5 separate regions of the Homo sapiens genome follow, and regions 1, 2, 3 and 5 are each linked to region 4. The links are contacts of gene promoters, found by promoter capture Hi-C in blood cells and fetal thymus (Javierre and others, 2016). All regions are on one chromosome and are shown on one strand. The core of a region is centred on a gene start or on the middle of the fragment in contact, and the rest is flanking DNA. Distances in the headings are between cores, read along the strand shown.

Region 1 (2,700 bases), core at 88-2,587, 490 kb before region 4:
CAGCTGTGGCCTGTGCAATTTTCTCCTCCCCCTGGATCTTGCTTATGAAGCCAAGTGGGGGTGTCTGAATCACTCTCACCAAATAGAGATCTTCCCTTTCCCTGGCCCACTCCGTGTCCTGAGCTGGTCTTAGGGCCTCGCCCTTGCTTGAGAGGCCTGATGGGGCAAGCCTGGTGGTCACACATGTCAGAGTAGAGAGGGATGTCGGGGCTGAGAAACCTGCTGATTTCAGTCTACAAAGCCAAACAGGTTTTAGGGTGCTGAACCTTGTTCTTCTTCCCATCTTCCTGTTCTCATCCTTTCCCTACATTTGTTTCTCCTTCTTCTTTGCCAGCCATATTCTCAACTCCCTAAGCCCAGCCACATTCAAATGTAACAAGAGTCACTAATGAAAGTGTCTTGTTTCGGTTTATCAGCTTTATGGTTTACACAGAGATTTCAAAATAACTCTGTTAGGCAGGACATATGTTAGCATCCGAGGCTCAGAGGGTTTAGGGGACTTGCCTATAGTTACACAGGACTGGTAAACACAGATCTTCTAACTCCAAGTACATTGCTATTTCTTTTTTTTTTTGAGACAGAGTCTCACTTTGCCACCCAGGCTGGAGTGCAGTGGCGCAATCTCAACTCACTGCAACCTTCACCTCCCGGGTTCAAGCAATTCTTCTGCCTCAGCCTCCCGAGTAGCAGGGATTACAGGCGTGTGCCACCATGCCCAGCTAATTTTTGTATGTTTAGTAGAGATGGGGTTTCTTTTTTTTTTTGGAGATGGAGTCTCGCTGTCGCCCAGGCTGGAGTGCAGTGGTGCAATCTCTGCTGGATCTCAGCTCACTGCAGGCTCCGCCCCCTGGTTTCACGCCATTCTCCTGCCTCAGCCTCCTGAGCAGCTGGGACTACAGGCGCCTGCCACCTTGCCCGGCTAATTTTTTGTATTTTTAGTAGAGACGGGGTTTCACCATGTTAGCCAGGATGGTCTCCATCTCCTGACCTCGTGATCCGCCCGCCTCAGCCTCCCAAAGTCCTGGGATTATAGGTGTGAGCCACCGCGCCTGGCCCGAGATGGGGTTTCACCATGTTGGTCAGGCTGGTCTTGAACTCCTGACCTCAGGTGATCCGCTTGCCTTGGCCTTCCAAAATGCTGGGATTACAGGCGTGAGCCACCGCACCCGGCCCTGTACATTGTTATTTCTATTTCCTTAGGCAATACCTGGCAACCAGCCCAGTCTGAATCTTCTGTAGTTGACAATCTAAATCTCCACACTCACCTGAGAGACTTGGTCACTTCCGGGAAAGGCCTCAGGATCCTGGTCTATAGAACCAGGAAAGGGGAGAGACAAAGATCTTGGAAAATTTGCCTCTTCCCCTCTGGCTCTCTGTCTTTAGTGAAGAGCAGTAGAAATATCCTTACTTAATGGTGGGGAGCAACAAGGAAGTGGGGCGCTAGGGAGCTTACTGTAGCAAGGAGTACAACCCCAAAGGGTAGAAACAAAGAGAGGAAGAAATGATGTATCCCTTGGGACCTGTGGGGAGTATATTGAGAACAGGGTGCAAGACAGGGTGTCACATGGCTGTACACTGCACAACCCTTGGGGGTGCGATTCACATCACATTTGTTGTCATTGCAGACGTGTACATTTATTATTACAAGTTTCCTGCAGATGGCAGTAACATGTTTTGAAGAAGGGCTCATGTTTGGGCTAGGGCACGGTAGGGTGCAGGAAGATTCCACCATCTACCCATCAATCAGGTATTCATTCATCTAACATCACATAATCAGGACCCTCCCTGTCCTTGGCATTGATATTCAAAGATGACTGAAGATGTGGTCCCTTCTGCATGGAACTCAGTCTAGTGGAGAGGACAGAAGGGAGAAAAGGCCGGGTGTAGTGGCTCACACCTGTAATCTCAGCATTTCGGGAGGCCGAGGCAGGAGAATCATTAGAGCTAAGGAGTTCAAGACCAGCCTATGAGACCCTGTCTCTATTTTTTTTTTAAGTAGTTAGAAGGGAAAAAATAATTATATCCCCGTATGTGTTGTGAAAAAGGGGAGTGCAGTGACTCAGAGCTAAGGATTGGATCCCTCTCTGGTTGTTCATTTATTCATTCCTTCAACTAAAAAAGGGGTTAAGCTATGTGCCAGTAGAAAGCATCTATGGGATTCATTCCTAGGAGTATCAGCAAATGCTGCTGAAATAATCATTCCCAACATCTGCTCCATTGTGGCCTTCTAGTCAGACGACAATTGTCTCTCTGCACAGCCCTTGTTTCAGTTGGCTTTATATTCACGTTCATTGTTCCCAGGTTCATTTCCCTCACCAGCTCTGGAGGTCTCTGTAGTCAGGAGTCCCATCTTACCCTTTTTGCCCTGGGACAGAGAGCCATGAGAGCACTACCTGGTCAGAAGCTGGAGCTTACTCCTCTGGGCCCATGTGTCTCTCCTCCAAGTTGGGAGCTCTGAGAAGACATCTCACAGGCACCTCTCTGCTTCATTCATTCATTCAATAAAAAAAATGGATTAAGCTCCTGCCATGTGCCAGGCACTGCGGAGATAACTGAATCTGGAGTTACAAGACTTAGGCAAATGACCTCACTTCTTGGATCCTCAGTTTCCTTATCTATAAAAGGGAGATGGTGATAAAGGGTGTAAAAGGGAAATGAACGAGAATCAGAATGTGCTGGAAAAACACAGGTTCACATGGC
Region 2 (2,700 bases), core at 152-2,651, 400 kb before region 4:
AACTTCACTTTGGTGTAAAACCTCATTGAGTGGAATTGTGAGCAAACTTTTGTACTGTTTATTTTTCTCTTCCTGGTCAAGTTTGCATAGTTAAATGCAAGTATGTTGTGATTGTATTTTATCCTTCTTTTCTGCTTTCTGTTTTTCTAATTTCTTCTTCCCTTTTAAAAATCCTCACTGCCGGGGGCAGTGGCTCACACCTATAATCCCAGCACTTTGGGAGGCTGAGGCAGGCGAATCACTTGAGGCCAGGAGTTTGAAACCAGCCTGGCCAACGTGGTGAAAGCCTCTCTCTACTAAAAATACAAAAATTAGCCGGGTGTGGCCAGGTGCAGTGGCTCACGCCTGTAATCCCAGCACTTTGGGAGGCCAAGGAGGGTGGATCACAAGGTCAGGAGATCAAGACCATCCTGGCTAACATGGTGAAACCCTGTCTCTACTAAAAATACAAAAAAAAAAAAAAAAAAATTAGCCAGGTGTGGTGACGGGCACCTGTAGTCCCAGCTACTCGGGAGGCTGAGGCAGGAGAATGTCATGAACCCGGGAGGCGGAGCTTGCAGTGAGCTGAGATTGCGCCACTGTACTCCAGCCTGGGCGACAGAGCGAGACTCCTTCTCAAAAAAAAAAAAAAAAAAGCCAGGTGTGGTGGCAGGCGCCTGTAATCCCAGCTACTCAGGAGGGAGGCTAGTGCAGGAGAATCACTTGAACCCGGGAGACCCAGGTTGCAGTGAGCCGAGATCACACCTCTGCACTCCAGTCTGAGTGGCAGAGTGAGACTCTGTCTCCAAAAAAAAAAAAAATTCTCACTTTCTTCTTCTAAATCCATTTTATAGCACACAACAATTCTTCTCTTACCCAGAATGCTTATTTGTGTGTTAGCTTGTCCCATTTCTTAGTCATTTTCGTTATTCAAAATTATTTAAAGGAGAATTGAGAGTAGGAAGGGAAGACTTCTAATAGTCCTCTTCGTTTAAATTCTGTAATCATAGCTTCCACTCTCCTCCTTTTAGGTCCTCTAACTTTTGATTCTTATACCTTGCATATGAGGCTCTTTCCTTCTTTTTCCCCCCATTTTAGTCATTTTTCTGTAGAAAATTTCTGCTTATGCTTGGGGAGCTAGATATGAATTCTTGTTATACTTACTAAGCATCACTGGTTCTATCTCTAGATGTTTAATAGTCAGGTTTTTAGATCAATAGGTTTTTAGATCAATCCCAAATTCATAGTGTCATGAAAAGATAGATGAGGAACTGAGCCCACCTGGAGAAGTCAAAGGATACTTGGGCCAAGTGATATAACTAGTTATTGACAAGCTTAAACCATGACCCAGGGTTCTGATGTACAGTTGAATGCCTTTCCTCCAAATCACATTGCTTGCTGTTGAAGCCTTGGCTAGGAGTAATCTTTAGTAAGATCCTTGAATTGTGACTTTTTTTCTTTTGTTTAATTTTATTACAGTTCCTTCCTTTAACAAAAATGCTAAGTAATATAAGCTTTAAGAGGGTTAAAATTAGTCCGGTTTCAAAGATATATTTGAGAATTATGTAGTATCTCTTGAGATAGTCTAGAGATCTTAGAGCTACGTTGGGGCCTAAGGACTGAGAATCGCTGTCATCAGACTAGAGGTTTGAGAAAAGGAGATTTTTATTTATTTATTTTTGAGACCTAGTTTCGCTCTTGTTGCCCAGGCTGGAGTGCAATGGCGCAATCTTGGTTCGCCACAACCCCCGCCTCCCAGGTTCAAGCGATTCTCCTGCCTCAGCCTCCTGAGTAGCATGTGCCACCACGCCCAGCTAATTTTGTATTTTTAGTAGAGACGGAGTTTCTCCGTGTTGGTCAGGCCGGTTTCAAACTCCTGACCTCATGTGATCCACCCGCCTCGGCCTCCCAAAGTGCTGGCATTACAGGCGTGAGCCACCTTTCCCGGCCTAACTACTGTTTCTATAGAAGGAGTTTTCCAGATTGATGCCTAATGTACAAATAACTGCATCATCAGTCCCTGGCTGTCATCATTTTGCTGTGCAAAAAGGGAACATCAGAGAGGGGTCCAGGAGCCACTCCACATATCATTCGTAAATGTTATTGCTAATGGAGAGAGGGATGATGGTGGGGGCAGGCGTATTTGTGTTCATAGAGGAAGGTAGGACTGTAATCTCCATGCCTAGTTTCTGATTGGCATTGATAATATAACCATCTTTCAGAGAGTCAGCTCCAAGAGGTAACTGGGAAACATCTCAGTTTTGCTCCGGGCACTATTTCCTTTGCCATCTATACCAGAAGCTGTGGTGAATGGGAAAGCCATTGCTTTCTGAAGTGCCCTTAGGCCTTTCTCAGTGACTCTTAAGTTTTAAGAATCATTTGGGTGAGCATAATGCTGAAATCCTGTAGCTATGAAAGCTGCACTGCCATGGCAATAAAACTCCCCATTGAATAAGTAAAATGGCAATTTCCAGGAATCTGGGTGGTAGTTATTTCAATCAAGTTGAGAAATGGGATCACCGAGAGGGGGATTTCCGCAGAATCTGGGCTGTCAGGGAAATCTTTAGGCTGTCAGGGAAATCTTTATTCCCCATTGTCTTCTCCTTACAAATTCCAGGAGAGGAGTATGAGGTTATATTTGTGTCCTCAGTAAGCCCATAAAGGTCAGCCAGTGTGCTACCTTACATTGTAATTTTCCTTTTCAACATTCTTTTTTTTTTT
Region 3 (2,700 bases), core at 62-2,561, 450 kb before region 4:
GTGTTAAGCACTTTATATACATTAATCCACTTAATTCTCATGATAACCCTGTGAAATAGATTATCTCATTTTGCAGAGGAGAAAAGTGGGTCTCAGCCAGTGAAATAACTTGCTCAAGTTCTCTCACCCAGTAAATGGTAGAGCAGTCATTTATGTGTAGCTCTGTTGGACTTCAGAACTCCAGCTCTTAACTCAGTATATACTTTTCCTTCACTTCCTTGAATAGAACTGTTTGGCTTGAGTCTCCTTTTCTCTAAAAACTCCTAGTTCTGGAATGGTGCCAACTTAAGGGGTCAGGGAAGTGACCTTTACTTGTGTTCCTTTGAGCTGTTATTGTTTTCATTGGGAAAGAGAATGTGAAGTCAGTTCACATTTCTTACCTACTGGTTGCAGTCTTGCCATGGGGCCCTAGTCAGATGTGAGATGTTGTAAGTTACTTAAAAAAAAAAATGTCCTAGTGATTAAGAGGAAAAAACATAGGCCTGCTATGTTTATGTAACTCTCTTTTGTATTATTACAAAATTAAACATGTTCACTGTAATACATTTAAGCAGAAATTACAAAGAAAAAAGTAAAAATTCTCTTTTCTAGTCTTTATTTTCTCCACCTAGGCCCACTGGTCAGGGTAACCACTGTTCAAGCTTTGGTTTGTATCCTTACAGGTTTTTTCTTGCCAGGCTTGCTTTGGAACTGCACCTTTACATCCTTTATATTCCTTTAGGTTGGTTGTGTCTCTTCTTGACTCATGAGCCTTACCTCTTATTTATTTTTATTACCATACATCTGGCTTACATTTTTATTTTTTATTTTTTTTTTAGAGACAGGGTCTTGCTACATTGCCCAGGCTAGTGTGCAGTGGCTGTTCACAGGCACCATCATAGCACAGTGCAGCCTCAAACTCCTGGTCTTAAGCAGTGCCCCCTGAGTAGCTGAGACTACAGGACTGCACCACTGCACTGGGCTGCCTTACTTTTGAGTCTCCCTTTGATACTTAAGAGTTCTGCCATAGGGCCAGGCACGGTGGCTCACGCCTGTAATCCCAGTACTTTGGGATGCTGATGGATCACAAGGTCAGGAGATCAAGACCATCCTGGCTAGCACGGTGAAACCTCGTCTCTACTAAAAATACAAAAAAAAATTAGCCAGGCGTGGTGGCGGGCGCCTGTAGTCCTAGCTACTCGGGAGGCTAAGGCAGGAGAATGGCGTGAACCCAGGAGGTGGAGCTTGCAGTGAGCCGAGATCACGCCACTGCTCTCCAGCCTGGGTGACAGGGTGAGACTCCGTCTCAAAAAAAAAAAAAGATTTCTGCTATTGCACCCTTTTCTGTAGTCTTTCCCTCACCTCCTGGTAAAATTTTACTTACCTTTGAAGCTCAGTTCAAGTCCTCCCTTTTACATTAATCCACTGGAAAGCTAACCCATGATAACTCATTCTGCTTCATAACTCATAGCATTAATTTCTACCACTCATTTGCCAGTTGACCATGAAATGCCGTGTATCGTCACTTGTATTTTATTATTTGTTATTTAACTTATCACACATTTGCCCAGTTAGATTGTGCTGCTTGGGCTCATGGTGATTTATTCTTTCTAGTCCCAATTTTGCCTAACACAATGTCCTACATTTAGCAAGTACTCAGTAAATGTTGATGTGATTGGATTTTGTTAGTACTTCACACCCTTCTAAAGATCAGGTGCTTAGAGCCGGAAGCCTAAGGGAACACTTACCTGGCTGACATCATCTTGGCTGCCTGTCAAGATGGGGTGTGTGCCTGAGAGAACTGCCCGTAAATGAAATACTTGTGCAACAGGTTATGTTTTCTCCTTTAGTGGGTGGGATTCAAGACTTCACATTGGGAAAAAGAGATAGTAAGTGTAGGAAGAGGGCTGAAAAGGGGATGGATGGGAGGATGCTACCTTGTGAGAGGTGGGGATATGGCTTTATTAAAAACATAAATATTAAAGGCTGGCGTATTGCAGAGAGAAGCTTCTTGGAACCAGCAGGCTAATTAGGCAAACTGGCTTCTCTGGTGCAAACCAGTTGTTAATTGCCATTTATTTTCTTTGCTATAAAACTGTACCAGCCATCTACTTACTTTCTCATTAGAGTGAATCTGGAGAAAAGGCTTAGGTTAGATTTAGGAAATCCAGGAGAAAAATGCAGGACAGTCAGAGTAAGACCAGGGATGGGCATAATCCTTTCTCTCACTTGTCTTACCAGCCCTAGACCTTAAGGGTGGCCAGGACCTCCTTGCATTTGCCAGTAGAGGTTGCTATTGAAGTAGTGTAAAACCTCTTGTTTCTATTCCTGCTAACTCCTTTTGCCCCATCTTATTTTTCTCCTTCACTGACACCCTCCTATCACACACACATTATTGGTTAGTTATCATTCCCATCTCTGAGGTTCACATATGCAGTGGACCACCCTGCCTTTAGCTGTCCAGACTTTGACTGCAACCTGTCTTTCTATTCCACTCCTCCTCCCCTCCCCCAAATGATTTGAAATGGAGAGGAAAGGAAATGGAGTTTGATGGTTTTAACTCTTCTGTGGCTGTGGCTTAGGGAGCAGAATGTTTTGATTGCTTGATTTAGGGGTCTTGAGGTCTCCTAATACAATATTCTTTTTGTTAATAGAAAGGCCCCACTCCATTTTTTTTTTCTCTGAGTATTTTGGACTCAAAGTCTTGTGTTGAAATGTCGG
Region 4 (2,700 bases), core at 32-2,531:
GGTTTCCAACCCCACTACCAGCAACACTAATAAGTAGCCCAAGGTCACCCAGTTAGCAAGTGGTAGAAACAAGATTGAAACTCGAGTCATCTGATGCCAGGTCCGCGTTCTCAATCTCCGCACCCTGCTCCCAGCTTCGGTGGCAACATGCTGTCGTGATGCCGCCCTCCTCGGCAGGAGGGCCCTGCCAGAAGACGACTCCCGGGGTCCTCCGGGCTCCCACGCACGTGTGGGCACAGCTTCTACTCACCGTCGGCCGGCTGCTGGAAGTTGACGTAGGCATAGCCCAGGGAGCGGCGGGTGATCATATCGCGGCAGACCCGGATGGACAGCACAGGCCCCGCGGGGCTGAACTTTTCGTACAGCATGGCCTCGGTGACGTCCGAATGCAGGTCGCCCACGTACAGGGAGGCCATGGGGTAGCTGCTGGCCGCAGCGTTCATCTCCCCGCCCCCCACCACCCCGAGCCCCGCCAGGAGGACTTCTTATCGGGCCCGCCGCAGGACAAAGGGGCGCCTTCGGAGCCCGGGCCCGCGCCGCGGCTCACAGGTGGCACCGGCGCGGCGAGGACGAGCTGGAGTCGGCGGGCTTGGAGACGGGACGGAAACGGGAGGCGGGGGCCGGCTCCCACGGCCGCAGCACCGCAGACAAAAGGCTCTCCGCACAATACGGCCCTCCCCGCGACTTTGCACTTCTCCGCGGTCCTGGTGCGAAGCTCCAAATTTCAAAAAATCAAAGTAGGAAAAAAATTAAACGGGGAATCCCCTTCCGAAGGGTAAAAATCCTTTAAGAGGCGACCGGACGCTGCCCACGGCGGCCTCGGGGACACGCGTTTCTCTATAAATATAGGCCTCGGGCTCCGGCGGTTTAAGATTACAACCGCCGGGGCAGAGGGAAACCAAATCTTTGTGGGCGCCGACTCGGCGAGCCCCGGGCGGGCGGCGAAGGGCAGCACGGACACGTGGTGCGCCGGGGCAGGCGCGGGGCGCGGGGCTCGGGGCCCGAGCGGGGGGAGGGCACGGCGGGCCGGGCGGGCGGCTCACCCCCGGACCGACGGACGGAGACCGACGGACGCCAAGCGCTGCGGCGGCGGGCGCGGGGCAGGCCGGAAGCGTACGAAAGTGACTTCCCCGCGGGTTCTCCGAGGATTCGTTTTTTCTTTTCCTTTTTTTTTTTCAGGATTTTGAAGCGTTTTCAGATTTTTTTTATCTTTTTCTCTTTTTTTCCTCAGGCTGCGAAGCCCGAAAGCGGCGGAGGCGGCAGCGACCCGGGGCGGAGAGAGGCGGCCGAGGGAGCCACCGCTCCATTTATACCCGCCCGCCCCGGGCGCTGCTGGTCGAAGGGCGCCTCGCGACCTGGGCGCAGTCGTGCCCGCCCACTCGGCCCGGGGGCCCGAGGCGGGGCGGCCACGCGAGAGCGACCCGGCGCGGCCGCGCGGCGCTACAGCGACCCCTGGCGCCGGGAGGACCGCCCAGCTCGCGGCTGCGGGAGACCCCAGGGCCCCTTTCTATAACAAATAAATCTTAACACCCTCCCACCCATCACCCGGGAATGGAACCTAGGAGCCATTTAACCTGCACACACGCATGAGGTTTAAAATTAAATGGTATGGGGCTGGGTGCAGTGGCTCACGCCTGTAATCCCAGCACTTTGGGAGGCCGAGGCGGATGGATCATGGAGGTCAGGAGATCGAGACCATCCTGGCTAACGCGGTGAAACCCCGTCTCTACTAAAAATACAAAACATTAGCCGGGCGTGGTGGCATGCGCCTGTAGTCCTAGCTACTCGGGAGGCTGAGCAGGAGAATAGCTTGAACCCGGGAGGCGGAGGTCGCGGTGAGCCAAGATCGTGCCACTGCACTCCATCCAGCCTGGGCAACAGAGTGAGACTCCCTCTCAAAAAAAAAAAAATTAAATGGTATGCCAAATTGTGAAATGAAGGTGACATAAAATAAGTTAAAATAAAATAATAGGTGGTCCAATAGGTAAATGTCTGGGTCCAAATACAATAAAGATTTGAGAAGTTTTCAGGATACCGTTGACCTAGAGGTAGAATCGTCAGGAACTAGAAATGCAAGCAGTATCCATGGGTGATGGGATTTTCTGAAAAGATGAGCACATTTTGGTAAAGCTTCAATGAAACCAAACACAAGCATCCCCTCTATTGACATGCTGGTGGCATTCCCGGACATTTAGTTTGTGTTTAAGGGCACAGAAATACTTTCTGTTCCTATGTTTAAAGTTTCTTCTAGGCTTGGATAATTATAAAAAGACTTTTCATCTGCATGAGAGTCTGGCAGGTCATTTGAAAGTCGTATCACAGGCCAGGCGTGGTGGCTCACGCCTGTAATCCCAGCACTTTGGGAGGCCGAGGCGGGCGGATCACTGAGGTCGAGAGTTCGAGACCAGCATGACCAACATGAAGAAACCCCCGTCTCTCCTAAAAATACAAAAAGTAGCCAGACATGGGGGTGCATGCCTGTAATCCCAGCTACTCAGGCGGCTAAAGCAGAAGAATCGCTTGAACCCGGCAGGCAGAGGTTGTGGTGAGCTGAGATCATGCCATTGCACTCTAGCCTGGGCAACAAGAGCGAAACTCCGTCTCAAAAAAAAAAAAGTCATATCACTTTATAGGACTATGTTATATGGGACTGTCCACACGCATTACAAGATATATAGCATCCCTTCTTCCATAAGTGCC
Region 5 (2,700 bases), core at 124-2,623, 380 kb before region 4:
CTTGGGACACCTAAGGATGGATGGACAGATACTTAAGAGGCTGCCTCCTTCTTCTGAGATTGGGCTTTTCATCAGGGCTGTGCCACAGGGTGTGATGCTGTGTGATAGCAGATGGCTCTGCTTCATGCCCATTACTTTTTGTTTTATCCAAAGTAGAAGCTGTGGTCCCCAGATTTTAGAGAGTAAGGGCTTAATCATACTCATTGGCTTTTCTGCCTTTGCCTGTTTCTGCATTGCCACCTGGCTGCCATTAGAGGGAATTCATTACAACTCTGAGTCCCTGCAGGGAGCTGAGAGGAGCTATCCTTGTGTTTAGGATGGGACATGTGTTCTTAAAACTGGGCCAGGCACGGTGGCTCCCAGCACTTTGGGAGGCCGAAGCAGGTGGATCACTTGAGGCCAGGAGTTCGAGACCAGCCTGGCCAACATGGTGAAACTCCGTTTCTATTAAACATACAAAAATTAGCTGGGTGTGGTGGTGTATGCCTGTAATCCCAGCTACTCAGGAGACTGAGGCACAAGAATTGCTTGAACCTGGGAAGTGGAGATTGCAGTGAGCCGATATCTCACCACTGCACTCCAGCCTGGGCGACACAGCAAGACTCTGTCTCAAAAAAAGAAAAAAACAAAAAACTTAAAAATGGTTACCCAGATTTCCTTTTATGACTTGTTCAGTCAGAGGCAGCTGGGAGGATGCACGCTGGGGAAAGCATTACTCACCAGGCACACATAGTGGCCCTGACTGCTGGCAAGTAGTCTGGGCTGTGTTAAGAGTGAGTCACCTCGGGGAATGGAAAAATTGCAAGGTACTGAGGGGTAGGAGTTGTGTGCCAGTGACTGCTCCTTTTCTGTCTGCTATTTTCTCTATAAGGACTCATCACAAAACCATAAATACTGACGATCCTGTTGAGGCAGCCGTGAAGCCAACCAACTTTATGGTGATAATGTTTCCCATAAAAGGAATGAGCTGACTGGACATAGCATTGTTGCCTTCTATGTTACAGGTGTATATAGATTTTGACACAAGCTTGAACTTGTATAATGAAAGTTCCATGTGTGAGAATTTCATCAGAATAAAAGCAACACAGTTTTCTTTGTTGTTTAAAAACTTAGTCTTCTGTGTCTATCTATCTTTGTCCAGTAGGGGTCACTGAGGGTTAGGCTCTCAATAAGAGAAACACTAATCTAGTGATAAATGAGCTGGATTCCTTGTCTATTGTGACATCTTTGTATATTCAGTACTATGTTTTTTAAAATATTAGAGCAGAAACAAAAGGCGTGAACTTGTATTAAGAACTTTATGGGCGAAGCGCAGTGGCTCATGCCTGTAACCCGAGGCGGGTGGATATCACCTGAGGTCAGGAGTTCGAGACCAGCCTGGCCAACATGGTGAAACCCCGTCTCTACCAAAAATACAAAAAAATTAGACGGGCATGGTGGCGCATGCCTGTAATCCCAGCTACTTGGGAGGCTGAGGCAGGAGAATTGCTTAAACCCGGGAGGCAGAGGTTGCAGTGAACCGAGATTGTGCCATTGCACTACAGTCTGGGCAACAAGAGTGAAATTCCATCTCAAAAATTAAAAAAAAAAAGAATATTTCTGGACAAAAATAACAATCCTGGGCAAGATTCTGGAACAGTCCCCATAGACAGGGCTTCTTTTCTTCGTATCATTTTTTTCTCCATTTCTTTAAGATGTTGGCTACCAGAGTTTCCTGGAAAAAGCTTACTAGATAGATATTATTTCATTGGGGAAAAGGGTCAAAATGCCAGAGAGAGAGATTACTTAAAATGGTAATATGGCTGTTGAGGTTGACTAGATATTCTTGTCCTTTCCCTTTTTGAAGCAATGCTGTCGAAGCCTAATTTGACTTAGTCATTGAGCTGTTCAATACCACACATTACTTTCACTTACCTTCTTGCATTTGCCACTGAGGATGACTTGATGCCCTGCTAGGAGGTCTCTTGTGTGGTAATCATAATAACAAGAGTTGGCATTAATGAGTCAATGTTTAATGCTTTTTAAATAGTTAATGCTTACTGTGTGCCAAATATATTATGCATTTTCTCACTTAATCCTCACTGTAACACTGTGAAGAGGTAATTTTATTATCCCTTTTTGACATGAGATAACTATGGATTAAAGAGATTAAGTAATTGGTTCATAGATACACAACTAGAGATTGTGAAATCAGAATTTGAATATAGGTTTGGCTCACAAATTATATTTACAGCCCTGGTAAGAGAGAGAGGGAGAGAGAGAGAGAGAGAGGCAGGCACTTGGGTTTAAGAGTGAGTTTTCTTTTTTCTTTTTTTCTTTTTTTGAGACAGTTTCGCTGTTGTTGCCCAGGCTGGGGTGCAGTGGCATGATCTCAGCTCACTGCAACCTCCACTTCCTGGGTTCAGGCAATTCTCTTGCCTCAGCCTCCCAAGTAGCTGGGATTACAGGCACTCCTGGGTAATTTTGTATTTTTAATAGAGATGGGGTTTCACCATATTGGTCAGGCTGGTCTCGAACTCCTGACCTCAGGTGATCCAACCACCTCGTCCTCCCAAAGTGCTGGGATTACAGGCATGCGCCACCACACCTGGCCAAGAGTGAGTTTTCTAAGTGCTGTACCAGAGCATCTCTCACTTTATTTTCTGCCCCTCCTCTTTAGTGTTACTTTCCCTTTTCTTTCTTAAGGGTAAGACCTTCAGT

What was found. Contacts are between HindIII fragments. The CHiCAGO score rates a contact against its expected background, and 5 or more counts as called.
Region 1: a fragment that was not itself captured here is called in contact with the fragment with the promoter of PABPC4 in region 4 in 1 of 17 cell types (fetal thymus); the score reaches 5.8 in fetal thymus.
Region 2: a fragment that was not itself captured here is called in contact with the fragment with the promoter of PABPC4 in region 4 in 1 of 17 cell types (fetal thymus); the score reaches 5.8 in fetal thymus.
Region 3: a fragment that was not itself captured here is called in contact with the fragment with the promoter of PABPC4 in region 4 in 1 of 17 cell types (erythroblasts); the score reaches 5.4 in erythroblasts.
Region 5: a contact is called between a fragment that was not itself captured here and the fragment with the promoter of PABPC4 in region 4, in 1 of 17 cell types (fetal thymus). The highest score is 7.7, in fetal thymus.

Annotation. Positions count from the first base shown.
Region 1 is chr1:39,087,217-39,089,916 of GRCh38, forward strand. It overlaps a transcript of MACF1 not described here. Among named protein-coding and RNA genes, the nearest start is that of NDUFS5, 62 kb to the left of the region's middle. The HindIII fragment of the contact is 5,136 bases long and covers 1-2,700 here.
Region 2 is chr1:39,175,493-39,178,192 of GRCh38, forward strand. It overlaps a transcript of MACF1 not described here. Among named protein-coding and RNA genes, the nearest start is that of MACF1, 28 kb to the right of the region's middle. The HindIII fragment of the contact is 180 bases long and covers 1,312-1,491 here.
Region 3 is chr1:39,127,412-39,130,111 of GRCh38, forward strand. It overlaps a transcript of MACF1 not described here. Among named protein-coding and RNA genes, the nearest start is that of MACF1, 76 kb to the right of the region's middle. The HindIII fragment of the contact is 1,345 bases long and covers 640-1,984 here.
Region 4 is chr1:39,575,509-39,578,208 of GRCh38, forward strand. It overlaps PABPC4 (poly(A) binding protein cytoplasmic 4), which reads right to left and starts at 1,282. Exons shown (of 16, transcript NM_001135653.2): 1 at 251-1,282. The coding sequence starts at 443. RefSeq lists enhancers at 1-86, 107-156, 657-726 and a silencer at 1,227-1,536. The HindIII fragment of the contact is 4,726 bases long and covers 1-2,128 here.
Region 5 is chr1:39,191,540-39,194,239 of GRCh38, forward strand. It overlaps a transcript of MACF1 not described here. Among named protein-coding and RNA genes, the nearest start is that of MACF1, 12 kb to the right of the region's middle. RefSeq lists an enhancer at 1-511. The HindIII fragment of the contact is 697 bases long and covers 1,026-1,722 here.